Regions from separate parts of the Homo sapiens genome. Here region 2 is linked to region 1. The links are contacts of gene promoters, found by promoter capture Hi-C in human tissues and cell types (Jung and others, 2019). All regions are on one chromosome and are shown on one strand. Each heading gives the region's core, a stretch centred on a gene start or on the middle of the fragment in contact. The rest is flanking DNA. Distances are from core to core; before and after follow the strand shown.

The links. Contacts are between HindIII fragments. The study calls those that stand out against the background at their distance.
Region 2: a fragment that was not itself captured here is called in contact with the fragment with the promoter of EIF5 in region 1 in 1 of the 25 tissues and cell types used here (adrenal gland).

What each region holds. Positions count from the first base shown.
Region 1 is chr14:103,331,605-103,337,748 of GRCh38, forward strand. It overlaps EIF5 (eukaryotic translation initiation factor 5), which reads left to right and starts at 2,633. Exons shown (of 12, transcript NM_001969.5): 1 at 2,633-2,656; 2 at 2,785-2,993; 3 at 4,049-4,328; 4 at 4,432-4,513; 5 at 5,073-5,245; 6 at 5,512-5,623. The coding sequence starts at 4,257. EIF5-DT (EIF5 divergent transcript) reads right to left here and starts at 3,056. Exons shown (of 1, transcript NR_158216.2): 1 at 68-3,056. RefSeq lists an enhancer at 2,089-2,208 and silencers at 2,529-2,948, 3,089-3,138, 3,249-3,488. The HindIII fragment of the contact is 9,721 bases long and covers 1-6,144 here.
Region 2 is chr14:102,287,593-102,293,736 of GRCh38, forward strand. The region is part of intron 1 of MOK (MOK protein kinase); the gene reads right to left. Among named protein-coding and RNA genes, the nearest start is that of MOK, 14 kb to the right of the region's middle. The HindIII fragment of the contact is 3,933 bases long and covers 422-4,354 here.

The DNA of each region.
Region 1 (6,144 bases), core at 1,383-3,882:
AGAAAGATAAATACCACATATTCTCATTCATATGTGGGAGCTAAAAAAAAATTCGAGTTCATGGAAGTAGAGACTTGAATTGTGGTTTATTAGAAGCTGGGAAGGCTAGTGGGAGGAGAGGAGAGGGAGAGGTTGATACAAAATTGCAGCTCAATAAGTTCTAGTGCTCTGTAGTATTTCAAGGTAAATATACTTAACAACAATCTATTGTATATTTTCAAAAAGCTAGAAGAGAGAATTCTGAATGTTCCCAACACAAAGAAATGATAAACATCTGAGGTGATGGATATGCTGATTACTGTGCTTTGATCATTACACGTTGTATACATGTACTGAAATATCACTTTGTATCCCACAAATGTGTTATTATGTATTAACTAAAAATAAAAGGGAGAAAAAGAACACAAAAGTATTTTTTTAAGTTGTCCATGGTTGCATACAAATGAGTGGTACACATATTAAAAAGCAGTTAAAATTATTACAAACTTCAACGAAATTAAAAATTGTGCCACTAAACATACAAAAAAGCTAATTACTTCGTGTTTCATTAAAACTTTTCTGAAAAGGCAGGCCTCTCACCTCAGACTAGTTTCATGCCTATACTTTCCAACAGAGTTTCTAAAATAACATCATTTTTGTGCTGCCAAGCAAAAAGTCAGATCTGTTTCAATACTGCTAAGTCATGCTCCACAGTGAAACAGCAGCAGCATGTCTGGGATCCCCTTTTCTAGTTTGTCTGATGGGAACCCTGGTACTCACAAGGCACTGTGCACTTGGCTTAACAACTATACACCAAGGTACACACTGCGGGATTATAAAAGTCCCTGCCCTAAAGGACACAAATCACCTCTCAATTCTGGATTGTGCCTTTATTTCTTCCTACCAACACTGCCAATTTTTAAGTTGTTTATAAAGCTTTTAGTTATGGAAGCACGATCTTGGATTTTGATATAAAAATCAACATAGCTGCCAATTCTAACCTCAGTGCAAATGCAACTGGTCCAAAACAAAGGGCAGCCCCTTATCTACCTCATCCTGTCCTCAGCAACATTTCTCTTTTCCAGATCGGGAAACCTGCACGGCCGCTCAGGACTTCTCGATGACTGCACCTTAGAGACCAGAGTGCAGGTTAGCGGGGCTCTCGCTCCATCAGTCAAGTGAGGTCTTCAAACTTCAGGGTGAACTATGGATGTGTTTTTAAGACTCAAGTTTTCACAAAAAAAATCCAAGTTTCAGAAAGAATGGGAGAGTTTCAACAGAACTAAAATATGAGAGCCTCTCTCTAAATAATAAAAATTTTCTTTTTTTTTTTTTTTGGAGACAGTCTCGCTCTGTTGTCCAGGCTGGAGTGCAGTGGTGTGATCTCGGCTCACTGTAACCTGTGCCTCCCGGGTTCAAGGATTCTCCTGCCTCAGCCTCCCGAGTAGCTGGGATTACAAGCGAGCCACCACGCCCAGCTAATTTTTTGTATTTTTAGTAGAGACAGGGTTCCACCATATTGGCCAGGCTGGTCTCAAATTCCCGACCTCAGGTGATCCGCCCACCTCAGCCTCCCAAAGTGCTGGGATTACAGACGTGAGCCACCGCGACCGGCCTAAATAATAGTAATTTTCAACGGAATACATTGGAATCTCATTATAAATGCCTGCTCTGGGCTACGATTTGCTTATCAAAGAATTCACAAGTCATAAACTAGAGGGGGTGGACTCGACGTGATGCCCACTAGGAGAAAGGTGACAAGAGAAGCACGAAGGATAGCGCTTTTCAACCCTGGGAGAGCAGGGAGGCCTTCACCAGAAGGTGGGAACCCACCACGAAGCGCCTTCAGGAGGCCCCAGGATTCCAAACCAATTAAGGGCCTCCTCTTCCGAAAACGGGAGGCGACGCGCTGAGCTAAGCGCGCAGGCTGGGTTGCGGGCCGACACCGAGGCGGCGCGGCCTCGCGACCGCCCTGGGCGGTCACTGGCGAGTCACGGACTCGTTCCGCCAGCGGCCAATCCACCCCGAGTCCGAAACAGAAGACGTCCCTGGGATGAAAGACCCAGGCCTGGGGCTTAAGGTGGAAAAACAACTCATTCCTCGAGGCCCGGAGTCGGGCGTCCCGGGAGAACGGGAAAGGGAGATGAGCGCCCGCTGCGGGGAGAACGCGGTCGGGTTCCTCTCCCCGAAGGTGGCAGCCGCAAAAACACGGCCTCGAAAGCAGTTTCGAGGACGATGGCTCCTGCGTCCCGGGAGTCGCCATGACGCCGCGGCCTGTCCCAGACCCGGCGAGGGAGGGGACCAACCACCATCTCCCCCTCAAGGCCCAAACCGACAAAGAACGGCCCCCGGTACCCCGGCCCCGCCACCAGGGCCACTCCGGGTCTCGCGAGACCCAAGGGCTGCGCCGCGAAGACCTCTGGGAAAGGCGGGGGGAGGGGAGAGGAAGGAAGCGAGACCGGGGCTGGAGGCGGGCCGAGGCCGCGAGTTGAGCCTCAGGAAGCAGAAGGGGCGCGGAAAGATGCGATTGACGTCGCAAGCGAACCAATGACGAGCGAGCTGTGGCAGGCCTCCAGCCAATGGGCAGTGAGGCCTGACGCGGGGGGCGGACGCTGGGGCCGAGGGTAGCTTGAGCGCGGCGGCGGCGTTGTTCAGTCAGAGCGAGAACATTCCAGAGGTGAGTCCGGTGAAGGGGCGGCCCCCTGCCCGGTGCTTCCCGCCCCCTCGACCCCTCGGGCCGCTGGCTGGCGGGGAAGGTGCACTCCCCGACCGCCCACGGCTCACGGCGCCGTCTCTCCGCGCCAGGTCGCCCAGCTCCGGCGCTGACGGGTGTGGACCGCGGACGTCGCTGGGACAGCCCCTCCCCGCTGCTCGGCGGCGGCACCTGGCCCGGCCGCTCCTCGCTGCGCTTCGCCTCCGCCTCCTCGGACTCGGACTCGGGTTTATATCGCGCCTCACTTCATCCCAGTCCCGGGCGAGCAGCGTTGGGTTTATGTCTTTATTTGACGAAAACGGTGAGTCGCGGGCGCGGCGGGCCAGGAGATGGCGGCCGCACAAGATGGCGGCGGCCGCCGCGTGACCCCGCCGCGGCGTGTGGCGCAGTTTGGGCGGACGGCGGGCGGGCGCGGGCCCGGGCGCCGGCCGCCCCCTCCCCGCGCGCTCCCCGGCCCGGCCTCGCCCCCTCCCCGGCATGGCGGGAGCGCGTCGCGCGTGCCCGCCGCTCGGGCTGACTCAGGCTTCAGCTGCTGCATTTGTGAGTCATCGCGCGCTCTGGGGCGGGGGCGGCCCGATCCCGGCACCCCTCGGCCGTGTGTCGCTTCCCGGCTGTGCACCCTCCGGGGCCGCCGGCTCTCGGGGGACGCGCTGGGGATGGGGCCAGACGCCCCGGTCGCGCGCCCCCCTCCTTCGCGGAGCTGCCCGGTTCGCCAGCCCCCGCGGAAACGCCTCGGAGCGCGGTAGCCATGGGGACCAGGGCGAAGGTTAACCGAGTATTTGAATAGCGAGGAAAAGGGAGGCCGGGGCGAGCCTGGCGTTCGCTCGCGCTCTCTTGCTTAATGGCAAATTGTGGGCGAGCGCTGCGTTTAAGGAAGTGCTGCTTTGAAGTAAGCCATGGTTGCCGAAGCAACGATTAGTTGTAGAGAACAGTTCCCTAGGTTGCCCTTAAAAATGAAGACGAACGGGGGTGTGCCTGAGAAGTTTGCTTATCCAGGCGGGGTGGGCGGCGGAGAGGGCTCGGGTTCGTTCTTCAGCACTTCCAGGATGGCCGCAGAGGCAAACCTGCTGATTGCCCTCGGTCTGATGGAATCTCACGGCGGCTGAGGCAGCACAGCTTGTGTTTTCTTGTCAGGCATTTCCCTACCAGTCACAGCTTAGTCGAAATGGAGGCCTTTTTATGTTCCCGCAGATTGTACTGTGTTACATGAGAATGGCTGTTTGCATGTGATCTCAGATGCTTTTTAAGGTGGAGTTAAGCAGAAGCATAACTAGGATGTAAAAAGGAGGCGTTTCCATCCAGCGATGATGTTAAACCTGGGGGGATTTTTGTGTGTTCTTTCCCTTTTTCTTTCAGAGCTGTTGCGCAGCCATTGGTACCTGTATTGGGGAAACATAGCATACAAGCAAGAAGCTTACAGCCTCAGTGGCGAAAATTTTTTCATGTCAGAGACCGAGAACTCTTGCAGTCGTTTATGTCATCCCTTCTTCTCCAGACAGAAGATACCAAAAAGTTGCAATCAAAGATCTCTTCATCTTATTGATAAAGCCACTAATAAGCCAAAATGTCTGTCAATGTCAACCGCAGCGTGTCAGACCAGTTCTATCGCTACAAGATGCCCCGTCTGATTGCCAAGGTAATAAACTGCTCTTCAATTTAGTTGATAGCTCTTTTTGTAGAATTTTGAAGTTTGCATTTGTCAGGGGAAACTGCACAACTAAAATTCTTATTTCCTTTAGGTTGAGGGCAAAGGCAATGGAATCAAGACAGTTATAGTCAACATGGTTGACGTTGCAAAGGCGCTTAATCGGCCTCCAACGTGTAAGTAAAGCTTGGAAAAGTCCACAGGGCATATTATGGATAGAGTCTTCAAAGTCTTTGAGCTGCAAAACTTGTTCTAATTGTATGCTAGCTAATTACCTTACAAGTTAAGTGAGGAACCGTGGTTTATTGGTTGCCATGAGTTTACAAAACTACCAGGGGAACGCATTTAAAGAGTGGATGGCTGGGCGCGTTGGCTCACACCTGTAACCCCCAGCACTTTGGAAGGCTGAGGCAAGCGGATCGCGAGGTCAGGAGTTCTAGACCAGCCTAGCCAACATAGTGAAATCCTGAGTCTACTACTAATACAAAAATTAGCCAGGCGTGGTGGCATGCGCTTGTAGTCCCAGCTACTTGGGAGGCTGAAGGGGGAGAATCGCTTGAACCCCGGAAACGGAGGTTGCAGTGAGCTGAGACCACGCCGTTGCACTCCAGCCTGGGTGACAGAGTGAGACTCTTGTCTCAAAAAAAAAAAAAAAGTGGTGTTCGTACAAATGTGAGTGAGTAGCCAGAGATCTAGTTAACTGTAACGATCCAAACTCCTTTTTCATTCAAATAGATCCCACCAAATATTTTGGTTGTGAGCTGGGAGCACAGACCCAGTTTGATGTTAAGAATGACCGTTACATTGTCAATGGATCTCATGAGGCGAATAAGCTGCAAGACATGTTGGATGGATTCATTAAAAAATTTGTTCTCTGTCCTGAATGTGAGAATCCTGAAACAGATTTGGTAAGTGCTTTTGTGGTTGTCGAAAGAAAAAGCCATATACCTGCTTCTGTGATACCGCTAAGTCACCTTCCTGAGAAGGCAGAGCAAATGTAATTTTAAATCAAACACAAAACTCCAGTTTTCGAGATATTTCCATTCTTTTTTTTAAAGTAGGTCACTGTGTGAAAAAAGTTTTCTTTGCATGTGAAGCTGTCTGTGGTTTAGATGTCCTCTGATTAGATATTTTCATGTTATATTATGGATAACATTTGTTATTTTTTTGGCAGCATGTCAATCCAAAGAAGCAAACAATAGGTAATTCTTGTAAAGCCTGTGGCTATCGAGGCATGCTTGACACACATCATAAACTCTGCACATTCATTCTCAAAAACCCACCTGGTGAGTCTTCCATGATGAACTCCTAAGATCCTAAGATAAGTTACTAACTGTTGGGAACAAAATAGAAGGTTTTTTTGTAATAGGAATGTAAGGGAGACTGGGCACGGTGGCTCATGCTTGTATTCCCCGCATTTTGGGAGGCCAGGGCGGGCACATCACTTGAGGCCAGGAGTTCAAGACCAGCCTGGCCAACATAGTGAAACCCGTCTACTAAAAACACAAAAACTAGCTTAGCATGGTGGTGTGCTCCTGTAATCCCAGCTACTCCGGTAGCTGAGGCATGAGCGTCGCTTGAACCTTGGAGGCAGAGGTTGCACTGAGCTGAGATCGTGCCACTGCACTCCAGCTTGGGCAACAGCGACTCTGTCTCAAAAAAACAATATAAGGAACCTTTTAGTCCTTGTACTATATTTTATCAAATCTAAGACATCTTTCAAAAGTGTATTGTTAATTACCATTAAAGGTGAAAAATAGGCTGCCAATTAAACTGTGCCATATCAATTAAGACATTATCTGAGGGT
Region 2 (6,144 bases), core at 1,138-3,637, 1.0 Mb before region 1:
ACATAAAAATGACCAATAAGCTATGAAATGATGCTCAACATCATCAGTCATTAGGGAAAAGCAAGTTAAAACTATGATGAGATACCACTTCACACTCACTAGAATCAAAAACATAGATAATAACAAGTGTTGGTGAGGATGTGGAGAAATTGGGACCCTCATACATTGCTGGCAGGAATGGAAAATGGTGCAGACACTATGAAAAACAGTTTAGCCAGTTCTTTGAGATTTTTTTTTTTTTTTTTTTTTTTGAGACGGAGTCTTGCTCTGTCGCCCAGGCCGGACTGCGGACTGCAGTGGCGCAATCTCGGCTCACTGCAAGCTCTCCGCTTCCCGGGTTCACGCCATTCTCCTGCCTCAGCCTCCCGAGTAGCTGGGATTACAGGCGCCCGCCACCGCGCCCGGCTAATTTTTTGTATTTTTAGTAGAGACGGGGTTTCACCTTGTTAGCCAGGATGGTCTCGATCTCCTGACCTCATGATCCACCCGCCTCGGCCTCCCAAAGTGCTGGGATTACAGGCGTGAGCCACCGCACCCGGCCTGAGATGTTAAACAGAGTTACCATATGACCCAGCAATTCCACTCCTACATATATGCCTAAGAGAAACAAAAACGTATGTCCAAACAAAAACCTGTAAGTGAATGTTCACAGTAGCATTATTCATAATATCTGAAAGGTGGAAAGCATCCAAATGTCCATCAGGAGATGAACGGATAAACAAAATGTGGTCTATCCATACAATGGAATATTACTCAGCCATGAAAAGGAATGAAGTACTGATACATGCTACAGCATGGATGAGCCTTGAGGACATTATGCTAAGTGAAAGAAATCAGGCACAAAATGCCACATATTATGTGATCCCACTTATATGAAATGTCCAGAATAAGCAAATCTATAGAGGCAGGAAATAGATTTGTAATTGCCTAGGGCTGGTGGAATGTGGGATAAAGGAGTAACCACTCCTTATTTCTTTTGGGGTACAGGTTTCTTTTGGGGATGATGAAAATATTTTAACATTAGATTATAGTTATAGTTACACAACTCAGAAAATATACTTAAAATCACTGAGCAGTATACTTTAAATGAGTGAACGTTATAGTATGTATATTTCAATAACTCCATTAAAACAGACAACTCTGTGGTGTTGGAAATCAGAAAGTGGTTACCCTTGTGGGGTGAAGTGACCAGAATGGGCTGAAGGGGACACCCATGATACCAGTAACACTCTGCTTCTTGATCTGGAAGCAGGTTTCATTGGCATGTTCACTTCACCAACTTGTATACTTAAATGTAAGTGCAGCTTTGTTTTGTTTTGTTTTGTTTTGAGACAGGGTCTCACTCCGTTGCCCAGGCTGGAGAGCAGTGGTGCAACCTCGGCTCACTGCAACCTCCACCTCCTAGGCTCAAGCGATCATCCCACCTCAGCCTTCTGAGTAGCTGGGACTACAGGCACCCGCCACCATGCCCAGCTAATTGTTTTGTATTTTTTGTAGAGACAGGATTTCACCATGTTGCCCAGGCTGGTCTCAAACTCCTCAGCACAAGTGATCCGCCCGTCTTGGCCTCCCAAAGTGCTGGGATTACAGGCACGAGCCACTGCGCTTGGCCAATTTGTGCAGTTTTCTGTATTATGTTATACTCCAAAATAAAATCAGAAAAAAAAAACAGAGTTAGGAATAAGCAGAGAGTATAAGGAACAGAAATGATACACAGTAAAAGTATATACAGGGAAAATCACAAAGAAACACAGACTGAGAAATCTCATTAATGGCAGAATATGCACGTCTACAAATCCCTACTGCTAAGGTGCAAAACAATCTGCTTTCAATACTATTCTAGTTCCTAAGAGGGCCAATTCCCTCCTGCTCTCGGGTTTTCCTATTTTTAAGCTCCTGTTTTTTATTTTTATTTTATTTTATTTTATTTTGAGACAGAGTCTCACTGTGTTGCCCAAGTGATCTCGGCTCACTACAACCTCCATCTTCCAAGTTCAAGAGATTCTCGTGCCTCAGCCTCCCAAGTAGCTGGGATTACAGGTGTGTGCCACCATACCAAGCTAATTTTTGTATTTTTAGTAGAGATGGGGTTTCACCATGTTGGCCAGGCTGGTCTCGAACTCCTAACCTCAGGTAATCCACCCGCCTCAGCTTCCCACCCGCCTCACCCTCCCAAAGTGCTGGGATTATAGGCGTGAGCCACTGCACCCAGCCCTCAAGCTCCTTCTTTGTCAACAGTTATAATAATATGTCTCCATACTGTGAGGTGTAAGGAGATTTACTGGTCCTTACAATTGAAACTAAAACAATTCTCTTAATAAGAACTAAAGGATAAAGAACACTTCTTCAACAGTCTTCCTAACAAGGAGACTAGATTCTTTTTCTCCATGGTTAGAACGAGACATCCTCTTCTGGTTTCTCAAAACAGGTCTCCACCCTATTTCCCAGGTGGCTTCCTTGTTCGAAATGAAAACCCTCTGGGAAGGGTTTGAGTATTACTTGGTCCTGGAAACTTACAAGAAGCAGGAGATAAAATGCATTACACTTAGAGAAAAAAAAAAAAAAGACTAGGTATGGTGGCTCACGCCTATAATCCCAGCACTTTGGAAGGCCGAGGTGGGCAGATCATCTGAGGTCGGGAGTTCAAGACCAGCCTGACCAACATGGAAAAACCCCATCTCTACTAAAAATACAAAATTAGCCGGGTGTGGTGGTGCATGCCTCTAATCCCAGCTACTCAGGAAGGCTGAGGCAGGCGAATCGCTTGAACCCAAGAGGAGGAGGTTGCGGTGAGCCGAGATCACGCCACTGCACTCCAGCCTGGGCAACAAGAGCAAAACTCAGTCTCAAAAAAAAAAGAGAGAAACAAACAAACAAAAAAAATAGTAAAAATGAACAAAAAAGGCTTGGGGAATGGAACATTAACCATTCAATTTGTGTATAAGTAAATCGGTATATTAAAAGTCACAGCCTGAGACAGAGCCAAGTGTCACAACTGGTCTGTGTTATGAGCAAAAGAAAGGTGGCCTACTGCACCAGGAAGGGCTGCTCTCCATTACCACTTCCAGGAAAAACAACCTGAGGATGCTGAATCTCCAGACTAGCATTTTCCAAACTGAGTACTACAAAACACGAGGATCCCTGAACCCTAATGGGTATTCCACAAAAGAGGGTTCCATAAGCAAATAAATTTAGGAAATACAGAGTTAAATACGGCAAAATGTGTTTGCAGAATTCCTCAATGCCTTTCCCTGCATATGAGATGAGTCTCCAAATGGAGGTGGGGTATATGAGAGGGGTGTGAGATACAACCAGAGAACACCAGTTAACATCCCCCAGCACCGCTCTAGATCCCCAAACCGAAGATCTTCAAACTATGCTATTAGAATCCCTTTTATCCAAGTTTTCCCTGAATAAAAGAGGAACTAATCTAGCTCCCAGCAAGGCAGGGTTTCAGAACTATTCTGCTAGCTTTATTGTTCTCACTTGCCTTCTGGGAGAAACTGGCTAATGTAAGGCAGGAGTGAGCCCCGCTGAGGCTTCAGGACAGAGCACGGTACCATATCCCTTCTGACAAAAAACCGGAAGCCATAACTTGCTTGACAACTATAGCTTAACTAAGTCCCAGAGCCTCTCTACAACTGGAAACCTAATTAAATTCCATTAAATCCTAAAACCAGGCAATAAAGATTCTTTGGTGCATCTCCAAGAAGCTTCTGCAAAAGAAATGGACCAAAATACAGGCCCTGGCCCTGACCACTAATTTGTACAGTTTAAAACCTCATTAAGTAATTTTGACAAGTTTCTTGAGGAGCCTCCAAACTTGAAACTTTGTGGGAAAATTCAACAGCCTAAACATCTTCTGCCCTCAAGCAGACCCTCATACTGACCTACCAGGCCCTGTTCATACTAGTCAAGGGATAGCTGTTGCTTGCTAAAACACCACCAAAATTTACCCCTTCTCTTAAATGAATTAAACTGGAAAGCCCAGAAATTTCTCTACAAGAAGATCAGTGTCTTCATTGTGCAGAAGAGCTCACACAGCAGGCCTGGGACTTCTCTCCTTAGAAAGGTCTGCTTGCAGCCAAGTGCGGTGGCTCACACCTGTAATCCCAGCACTTTGGGAGGCCAAGGTGGGCAGATCACCTCAGATCGGGAGTTTGAGACCAGCCTGGCCAACATGGTGAAACCCCATCTCTACTAAAAATACAAAAAATTTTCCAGGCATGGTGGCCTGTGCCTGTAATCCCAGCTACTTGGGAGGCTGAGACAGAAGAACTGTCTGAACCTGGGAGGCGGAGGTTGCAGTGAGCCGAGATCACGCCACTGTACTGAAGCCTGGGCAACAGAGCAAAACTCTGTCTCAAAAAAAAAAAAACTAACAATAATAATAATAAAGACTTCTTAGCACCAGCTATATACCACACACTGTGCCATGCACTGTAGACACAAATATCATTAAGACGTAATCCCTAGTCTTGAGAATTTACAGTATGTCCCTATACCCCTAATTTTAGGTCCTTTCCTTATAAAAGAGGGAGGGAGGAAATGGAACATTTTTGTTTAGAAAATATCAATGGTCAAATTATGGAGTACATAGGCCGGGTGCGGTGGCTCATGCCTGTAATCCTAGCACTTTGGGAGGCTGAGGCGGGTGGATCACAAGGTCAGGAGATCGAGACCATCCTGGCTAACACGGTGAAACCCCATCTCTACTAAAAATGTGAAAAATTAGCCGGGCATGGTGGCAGACAGCTGTAGTCCCAGCTACTCAGGAGGCTGAGGCAGGAGAATGGCGTGAACCCAGGAGGTGGAGCTTGCAGTGAGCCGAGATAGCACCACTGCACTCTAGCCTGGGCAACAGAGCAAGACTCCATCTCAAAAAACAAAACAAAACAAAACAAAACAAAAAAACAACTAATTATGGAGTACATAGTGTGTAATACCAAATACATGGTGCTCTGGATTCCAATCTTCCAGGACCGGCCTGGGAAGCTTTCAAGCAGATGTCTTTCTTCCTTCTGTGTGCACCTTGTCCTCCTGTTACAGAACTGCTCATGCTCCACTATGCACCTTCTCCTCATAAAGCCATAAACCTCTTAAATAGAAAGTCCACAATCTGTTCTCTCTTGTGCCATTACACTTAGAGAAACAAAAACCAACAGGAAAAAAAAAAAGCTTGGGGAATTAAATATTATTTTAGTATTAAAACCATTCAATTTGTATATGAGTGAATCTGTACATTAACAGCCACATTGAGGCTGGGTGTGGTAGCTCATGCCTGTAATCCCAGCACTTTGTGAGGCTGAGGTGGGCAGATCACCTGAGGTCAAGGGTTCCAAACCAGCCTGGCCAACATAATGAAACCCCATCTCTACTAAAAATACAAAAATTCGCCAGGAGGGTGGCGCACACCTGCAATCCCAGCTGCTAGCAAGGCTGAGGCATAAGAATCGCTTGAACCTGGGAGGCGGAGGTTGCAGTGAGCGGAGATTGTGCCACTGCACTCCAGCCTGGGTGACAGAGCTAGATTCCATCTCAAAAACAAAAAACAAATGAACAAACAAAAAACTTCATAAACAAAGATGGTATTCACAGTGTCACAAAAGTAAGAATGCCAGAAACTTAAATATCCAGTATCAAGGAAATGTTCTAACAAACTATGAAATAGCCACAGACTGAAATATTATGTAACCATTGATAACGATGCTTTCAAATAATATTTCATGACATGGGAAAATGTTCAGCCATAATTTCATGTTAAGTGAAAAAAAGGATGATAATGATCATACACACAACACATGCACAGAGAAAGACTGAATACAGCTGGGTGCGGTGGCTCACGCCTGTAATCCCAGCACTTTGGGAGGCTGAGGCAGGCGGATCACCTGAGGTCAGGAGTTCGAGACCAGCATGACCAACATGGAGAAACCCTGTCTCTACTAAAAATACAAAATTAGCCAGGTGTGGTGGTGCATGCCTGTAATCCCAGCTACTCGGGAGGCTGAGGCAGGAGAATCACTTGAACCCAGGAGGCGGAGGTTGCGGTGAGCCAAGATCATAGCACCATTGCACTCCAGCCTGGGCAACAAGAGCGAAACTCCATCACAAAAAAAAAAAAAAAAAAAAAAAAAGAAAAGAAAA